Linked DNA regions of Homo sapiens: all the other regions are linked to region 1. The links are contacts of gene promoters, found by promoter capture Hi-C in blood cells and fetal thymus (Javierre and others, 2016). All regions are on one chromosome and are shown on one strand. Each heading gives the region's core, a stretch centred on a gene start or on the middle of the fragment in contact. The rest is flanking DNA. Distances are from core to core; before and after follow the strand shown.

Evidence for each region. Contacts are between HindIII fragments. The CHiCAGO score rates a contact against its expected background, and 5 or more counts as called.
Region 2: a contact is called between a fragment that was not itself captured here and the fragment with the promoter of GNG11 in region 1, in 1 of 17 cell types (naive B cells). The highest score is 5.1, in naive B cells.
Region 3: a fragment that was not itself captured here is called in contact with the fragment with the promoter of GNG11 in region 1 in 1 of 17 cell types (endothelial precursors); the score reaches 5.1 in endothelial precursors.

Annotation. Positions count from the first base shown.
Region 1 is chr7:93,920,436-93,923,011 of GRCh38, forward strand. It overlaps GNG11 (G protein subunit gamma 11), which reads left to right and starts at 1,300. Exons shown (of 2, transcript NM_004126.4): 1 at 1,300-1,798. The coding sequence starts at 1,703. All of the region lies in intron 1 of LOC105375402 (a long non-coding RNA gene), which reads right to left. RefSeq lists an enhancer at 902-1,537. The HindIII fragment of the contact is 4,145 bases long and covers 974-2,576 here.
Region 2 is chr7:94,400,625-94,403,200 of GRCh38, forward strand. It overlaps COL1A2 (collagen type I alpha 2 chain), which reads left to right. Exons shown (of 52, transcript NM_000089.4): 6 at 943-996. Among named protein-coding and RNA genes, the nearest start is that of COL1A2, 7.0 kb to the left of the region's middle. The HindIII fragment of the contact is 1,298 bases long and covers 626-1,923 here.
Region 3 is chr7:94,206,021-94,208,596 of GRCh38, forward strand. No RefSeq gene overlaps it. Among named protein-coding and RNA genes, the nearest start is that of COL1A2-AS1, 180 kb to the right of the region's middle. The HindIII fragment of the contact is 1,613 bases long and covers 486-2,098 here.

The sequences.
Region 1 (2,576 bases), core at 50-2,549:
TCATATATAGACATACCAACACAATTAGAGACACAACATAGCTTAGCTGATTCACTACTTCCCTGCCTTACTATACATTTTACAAATTAGAAAACCAAAACTAAGAAAAATTAAATGACTTCTTCAGTGATGGCCTGTGGCAGAGCTGCAACTACACGCCAGGAGTATTCATTAAGTGGTTCATTGTTTTTTTCATTCTAATTTATTCATTGAGGTTGAGCGGAGCGTGGTAAGAAACTAGGAACGAACAAAAACTCCTGCTTCCTAAACAGGGAATGGTCATGGGTGTCTTGGGTCAGCTACTCTGAAATATTAAGTTAATATTTCACTTGCCTTTGACTCTGTGAGGCAGGAGGTTATCTCTGGAAAGAAAGAGAAATATCCAACTGCTAGGGAAGGTTTCTTACATTCATGTTTGATTTTTCTTCTACTCTTTTGACCACCATCAACAAGACTTTAGTTACAGTTAAAGGGAAAGTTTTATTGCATGTAAACTTTTTTCACATCGGACACTTTTCCTGGCTTTCCAGAGCAACAGCTAGATAAATAGTGCTTGCCAGAAAGTGGAGAAACTAATACTAAATGAATCCACTGCCTACATCCAGGAAGGTTCAGGAGCCAGGAATTCAAAATCCTTGGTGTCAAGTGTCACCCAAAACTTAGGGTTGGGGAGTGGAGAAAGGCTTTCGGTTAAGAACTCTAAGATTCCTGCTTCTGTCTTCTCTTATATCATCCTTTGATGCACCCCTCTACATAACATTCCCCCGGAAAAATAAAAAAAATACAAACTCTGCTGCTGTTGAGGATGCAGATGATTATTTAATAATAGAAAATGTTCTTGCAACTTGTAAACGATATTCACACCCTGTTGCCCCCTCCTCGCCCAAAATGTATAAACCCATATTAGGCCTCGAACAAGCCGGATGGACACAAATGAGCAGAACACTGGTGGGTATTTCTGGGATTAGGGCTAAGCTTCATTTTCTTTTCAGCCTTTTCTTAAGCGTCCGCATTCTCCACTATGCATTTATTACGTTGGTGCAAAACTAATTGCACCAACCTATATATGTAATTAGAGAAAAGTAATTACTTTTGCAACAACCTATGTATGTAATTAGGGAAAAGCTATATCTAGCATATTTTTAAAACTCTTTGAGAGGTGAAGGGTAGTTATTTCCTGCTGGGTAGTGTACTCCTTTTCCTAGCTTCACAAACAAAACCCGGATGTGACTTGGAAACGGAAAAAAAAAAAGGAGCGGGGGTGCGCGGAGAACACAAAGTAAAACTTCTGCTGTTCCCAGTCCTGCAGCCCCAGCCCAGCCGTCCCCCGCGGGCGTGGCAGGTCCTGAGTCAGGGCCTGTCCGTGGCCAGCATCCCTGCTGGGCGATTGAGCAGCGGGAAGCTGCTTGGACCCAGTCTCAAACTTAACCCTCATCTAGCACCCGGGCAGGCCTCCTGGGTTGCAGGGACTTGAGAAAAGGCAGAGTTCTCAGGTCCTAGGAAGCTGGGGCACGCTGGCGTGACAAGCGTCCCGGAGAAAGCCAAGCCCTCGGGGAGCTGGGGACCGCAGCAGGGCTGCAGTCACATCCTGCGCGGGTGGGCGGCGGGCCAGGCCTTCAGTTGTTTCGGGACGCGCCGAGCTTCGCCGCTCTTCCAGCGGCTCCGCTGCCAGAGCTAGCCCGAGCCCGGTTCTGGGGCGAAAATGCCTGCCCTTCACATCGAAGATTTGCCAGAGAAGGAAAAACTGAAAATGGAAGTTGAGCAGCTTCGCAAAGAAGTGAAGTTGCAGAGACAACAAGTAAGTTGGCTGTTCCGGAATATTTCCTTCTCTGAAATGAAGCAGGGTCCGATTTTTCCTGCTTAGTAACAGTAAAGCAAATAGTTTAGCTTATTTTTCCCCCTTTTTGTAGCTTCTCTTCTCACCACCCTTTGGCAGTGCCTGGGGACTGCCAGCTGATGTGGGGAAATCCTAGGAGGTAGAGGAGGGAGCAAGGATCTGATAAGTAATTTAAGGCCAAATGTCCTAACTTTTAAGATGCCTAGGAAGGGGAAAATAGACAAGAAATCTTGCTTTCCATTAGACAGCTGTTTTTCAAAACTCACTTGTAGGAAAAAAGCGGATAGCTACTTGGTTCTTTGATCTTTTACACTACTAGAAAGGATGATATTTGAAAGAAATTTTCTAAAACCGTATTTTAAAGTCTTACAAGTACATTATTTAATTTTGAATTTCACCAGTGGCCTTCAGTGATATGCAAAGAACAGTCCACCGAAATTTGGGAACAAAATATTAGAATTTCTATATTTATTTGTAAATCTCATCCCTTTATAATTTTCACTTTATGTTTTATTAGTATGCGATTAATACAGTAGTATCTGTACTTATTTATAAATAATTATACATACACTGTGGTGCATATGAAAAATTTTTTTAGTGATCACAATTTTAAAGTTTTAGAGACTATTGATAGAGATTACCATTTCATTGAGAACATATGACCCAGTATTCAATATTCTCCACTGAAACGTCTCGGGAGTTTTATAAGTTTTACTTCAATTTCTTACTGGTCATCAAG
Region 2 (2,576 bases), core at 25-2,524, 480 kb after region 1:
CCCTGATCTTAAGCAATTTTACAAACATCCTACGCTTTTTATTCTCCTTGACTTGAAGTCTGCTGAACCAACATTCAAAGCGGTTTTAGGTTTAATTTGCTTGAAACTAATTTGAGAAAAGTACATTTCCCTTTTTCATTAATATCTTCTTTTAGCTTCATGTCTTTAACAATGGTATGAGTGCCAAATGACCTCACTGCAGGAAGGAAAACATATTTGCTTAATTGGTTAGCACTATGAATCAGAAGCCTGATTCTAATACCCAACTGTATGTCAGTAAAATAAGACCTTTCTCCCCCAAAGATCTTATTATGATTGCTTATCTATGAATTGCATTAAAAAGCAGCTTCTTTAATAGAGCTACCACTATAAGAGAGATCTTTAACAGTAAAGTTATTACTGTGAACTAGTTTTTAGAAGTTTTATCTTCCAAGGGGTATTTTAATTTAATTTTCCTCTAAACTTGAAAACTCTTTATGCCCTTCCTGAAACTCCAGCAAGAAAAAGATCTCTTAGTCATTTTGTGTAGCTCCGGTGGGGAAGGGCAACAGGTGAAAATGTGAAGATGTCCTCTTGAGCTCTGTCTAATTTGTCAGGAGCCCTTAGTAACATTAAAAGTTTAGAAAGCTTCCCTTCCTCAGAGTAGAGGTAAAAGGTGGGAGTGGAGACACCGAGTTAAGGCAGAGGAAGGGCTCAAAAAGTAAAGTAGGGAAGTTCTCCATTTCAAAGAGGTGTCGGCCAAGTTTTTGACGTACAGCTCTCATAACTTTTTAGGAATTTAGTTCAATATAGAATTTTAAACTAATAATTATATCAAAAACATTGCCCTCTTTTAAATAACAACAGAAAAATATTTACAAGTAGAATGAGAAAATGAACTACATGACTAGTAACTAAAAATATTTTATATATATATATAATTTTTTTTTTTTACTTCTCTAGAACTTTGCTGCTCAGTATGATGGAAAAGGAGTTGGACTTGGCCCTGGACCAATGGTATGCTTATCTGTTTATCTTAGCCAAAAAAATTGCTAAATAAATCATTCATTTTATGTCACATTTTACCACGCCATTTATTTAGCTACCTAAGTTAACACTCAATACTTAGATTATATAAAAACAACTCTTTTTGTTTTCAAATTTATGAAAACATAAGTTAAGGAGTTCACTTTTCTTTACAAAAGAAAGATTAATTGATCTTTTATGATTATATGATCTTTTTGATTATATGATCCTCATTAAGATAGATCATATACTTATGTCCAAGAAATAATCTTTGGACATAGTAACCATAACTTGGGCAAATCAATTTAATTTAAAACAGTAATCACTCTGATTAATTTTTTAATATTCTTTAACATTGCTTAGAATTTTAAGCAACACTTAGAGGCATAGAACTATTTATTAAGTTCTCTGAACTTGTTGGAAAGGATCAACAAGTTCTATCTAGTCCAGCTAACTCATTTTAAAATGGGAGAGTTTAAGCCCTTTTCTCAAAGTCATCCAGGTAACTAATGACATAACTAGAACTAGATGCCAGGCAAGATGTCTAATATTTGCTTACATCATGGTTTATGTACCTAGTCCTTGAATAAACCACTCATTTAGTCAACAGATATTAATCAGATGCCTTCAATGGGCCCTAAACTGTATTAGGAACTGGGGAAATTACAAGGAATATGACAGATTCTGATCCTTCCTCAAGGAGTTAACAATATAGGAAATGTTTCTTTTTCTGAATTTTGACCAAAAAAATCCTTTTTTAGTCTATTGATTGTAAATCTATATAGAAGAGAGTATGAGTAAAAATCTAGCATTTATGTCACTCAGTACAAATATTCAGCACCATACCCTATCAGTGGAGCACCGCTTAGAAACATTCCCTATATGATGATGATGATGATGATGACTATTAACAAATGAAGCTTCTAACAAGCATTAGAGAGAAGTTTGAAGGGAAAAATGCTAATACGAGCATGCAAAATGTATACTAGCATATATGAAATAGAGGGGAAAACTGCCAGAAGTCAAAGTGTTAGGTTGATTAAGCACTACAGAATTTAATGTATACACACACACGCAATTTAGTGATTTTAATTAATTGTTTCAAAACAAAGGTATTTATCTGCCCAAAGTCAACAAGGTCTTTAAAATGTAAATTTTACCTGGGCAGTGCACTTAGTGCTCTATCTTCAAAAGAAGATGTTCTGCTGGAGCTAATGGCCCACAGTAAGCTAATATACTCTAAGGGTGAGATAATATTTTCTGTAAATTAAAACTCCCACTTGAGAAATAATGTACCTTTAATTGACGACTTCTAATTCCCTAATTTTTTCTGGTAGTTTAAAATGTTCATATCTGAAATGAAAAAGTAGAGTGTTTCTTTTGGCTTTGTTTATATTGGATTTTTGAAATTAGCTGTTTCAGCTAATGCTGGACATTAGTCAGTTTTAAAGCAGTACCTACATCTCAAGAAGAAGCAAGGGGGCGGAAAGTAAAGAGCTACTAAATGTCATTTTTAAAAAGCCCACTAAGCTGGGAAAATTAATATGGATTTCAGATACCCCTGTTTTCGG
Region 3 (2,576 bases), core at 42-2,541, 290 kb after region 1:
TGTGATTAAATTGTGAATTTGTTCTCTTTGACCTCTAGAAACTTTGGGAATTGTCTAAAAAGATTTTTGTTAAAATCAAGATTACATTAATAATAATTTATTATTAAATAATTAATCATCAAGGGACATTACTCTATGTAGATTAATTCCATGGAAAGAAAAGTAATGAGCTGTAAATACACAGAGGAAAAGCAAGATTATAGAAAGAAATATTAAATGTAGTAAATGCAAAAGAAAAAATGTGAGTATAGAAAATCCTCTGTGGAAAGGAAAGCTTGCACTGCGAGGGAAGACAAAAGGCAAAGGACTGAAGGACTTCTCCAACAAGGAATTACTGTAAACACTTTTAGAATATAAATGGAAACATACTCCAATTCTTGACTGATATTTGAAAGCTCCTAATTCAGGAAGGCAATTTTTTTTTCTGAGAAATTTCTCCAGGGATTGAAATTGCTCAATAAGAACATTTGTATATCCATTCTTGAAGCTTTGATTTCAAAAGTTAATATCTAGTCACCATATTGTGTAACTGTGAGGCAAGGAAAGAATTAGCCTTTAATGCTAATTACTTTCCTCCGATACTAGTATAACATTAATCTGGCAACTGGAATTCTCTTAAAGTTGGATATTTTAAATTTTAAATTTCCAATTTAAAATTGGAAACCCCTGTATATTTCTTGCAATTAAAATATTTAATATCATTTTGCTAATATTACTATGGAGTTATCAAAGTGATATCATTGTCAATGTTGCTCATTCCAAAGTGGAGTTACCAAACTAAACTTTCTAGAATCCTGCCAATATATCTGTGTGAAAACAGCTTTCCAAAGTGGGATTCCACTGAGTAGGATACATATAAGGAAGGAATTATGGTGAATGAGATGGGAAAAAGGAATATTTCAAATGTGATCAGTATGATGTAAAATACTTTGTGCCAAGAAGAATTTGATACTAGAAAAGTCAGAATACTTGGGATTGAGAGTACCTCTGCTGTTCTACAGAGATGGGAAATTTATTGGACCTCTCCAAATATCAGCTTCTCTTTTTGTAAAATGGGTTAGCACTACTTATCTCACAGGGTTATTATGAAGATTAGGTAAAATAATGTAGTTTAAAATGTTTTATAAGCTGTACAGCAGCTGTTGTTATTGTTGCCACTGTGTTGTTATTTGTATATGCTTTATCAATAGTCCTCATCCAGGGCTATACATAAACATCCATTGTGAAATATCTTCATAAATGCACATGCTTGGATTCAGTTTAAGTGTTGAAGGTGGGCTCAGTTATACCTATTTTGAAAAGCTATCCTGGCAATTTTGATCCTTGCTACGATCCATGGGGTTTATATTCTATTCTCAAGCCTCAGAATTTCTGGTCCCTAATGTTTACTACTACTGAGAACCAGAAGACCACAGGAAGGCATTCTTTCTCCTTCAGTCCCAGAACTCAATCAATGGTATTTCATATCTCCTAAGTTTCCAGTGAATTGCAGAAATATGGAATTTACTGTATGTAATGAGAATTTTAAATTTGGGGAACTTACAATTCAATAGTTTAAAGAATGTCAGGATTTTGCTCTCCTTCAAATCTCTAGCTTAACACCCATTTCAATTCTGTTACCTACCTAAGTTCTCAGAAAACCCAATCTCACAGTTTCTTTCTTTGGCAATGGTCTATCCTAGAATATTTGTCATCTTTTTCTCCATGTTTCTGTTGGAAGCATGGAAGCATCAGGGTATGGGGTTCTATTTGCTGGTTACCCCATGTGTCCACATTTCTCAAAAAGAGTTGAAAGTTGCCCCTAAACACCTCTACACACACACACACACACAATTGCCAACAAATTCATTCACTTCCATGTATCTCTAGAGTCCACATACAATATACCAGGCACTAAGCTCCACTCAGGGAATACGCATAATCCAATTTTTGCTGTTGAGGACTCCCTGTTGAGTAGAACCACCAGACAGAAAATATAAATGCCAGCAGTTGCAATTTTAGGTAGACATGCAATAAAAGGAAGATGAAACGTATCTTTATCTTAATTTAAGGCAGGGATTCAATAGTGTACCAACCATAAACAAAACCTCACACCAAAAGCTTTGGTGATTAGTATCAGTGGTATCAACTGAGAACTCTAACCCCTTTCAGGACTTATCTCTGTTTATTTTAACACCATTTATTATTCTTTCCAGAAAGTAAATTTCCTAATTGGTGTGATACTTCCCTACCAACCCCATTTGTGCCATTTATTCATATAGTAATCTTTTGCCTGGCTAACTCCTACCTATCGAAGCTCACCTCAAGAGTCCCCTTCTCCTCAATGTCTTTTGTAATCCACCACTGTTCCCTAAATTTAGGCAAAGCCACCTCTCCTTTGCTCCTTCTTGCTAAACACATAGTATGCTAGGGAAAACTGCCTCCCAGATGCAGTTTTCAAGGTGCCTACTTAATTCATAAACATGGAAAAAATCTTAATTACTTTAACTTATATTTCCAGAACTCTTTCTGCTTCCCTTCTGAAGAATTATCAAAGTTTCATATTTCTCATTGTTTGTCCCAGTTTTTAAGCACTT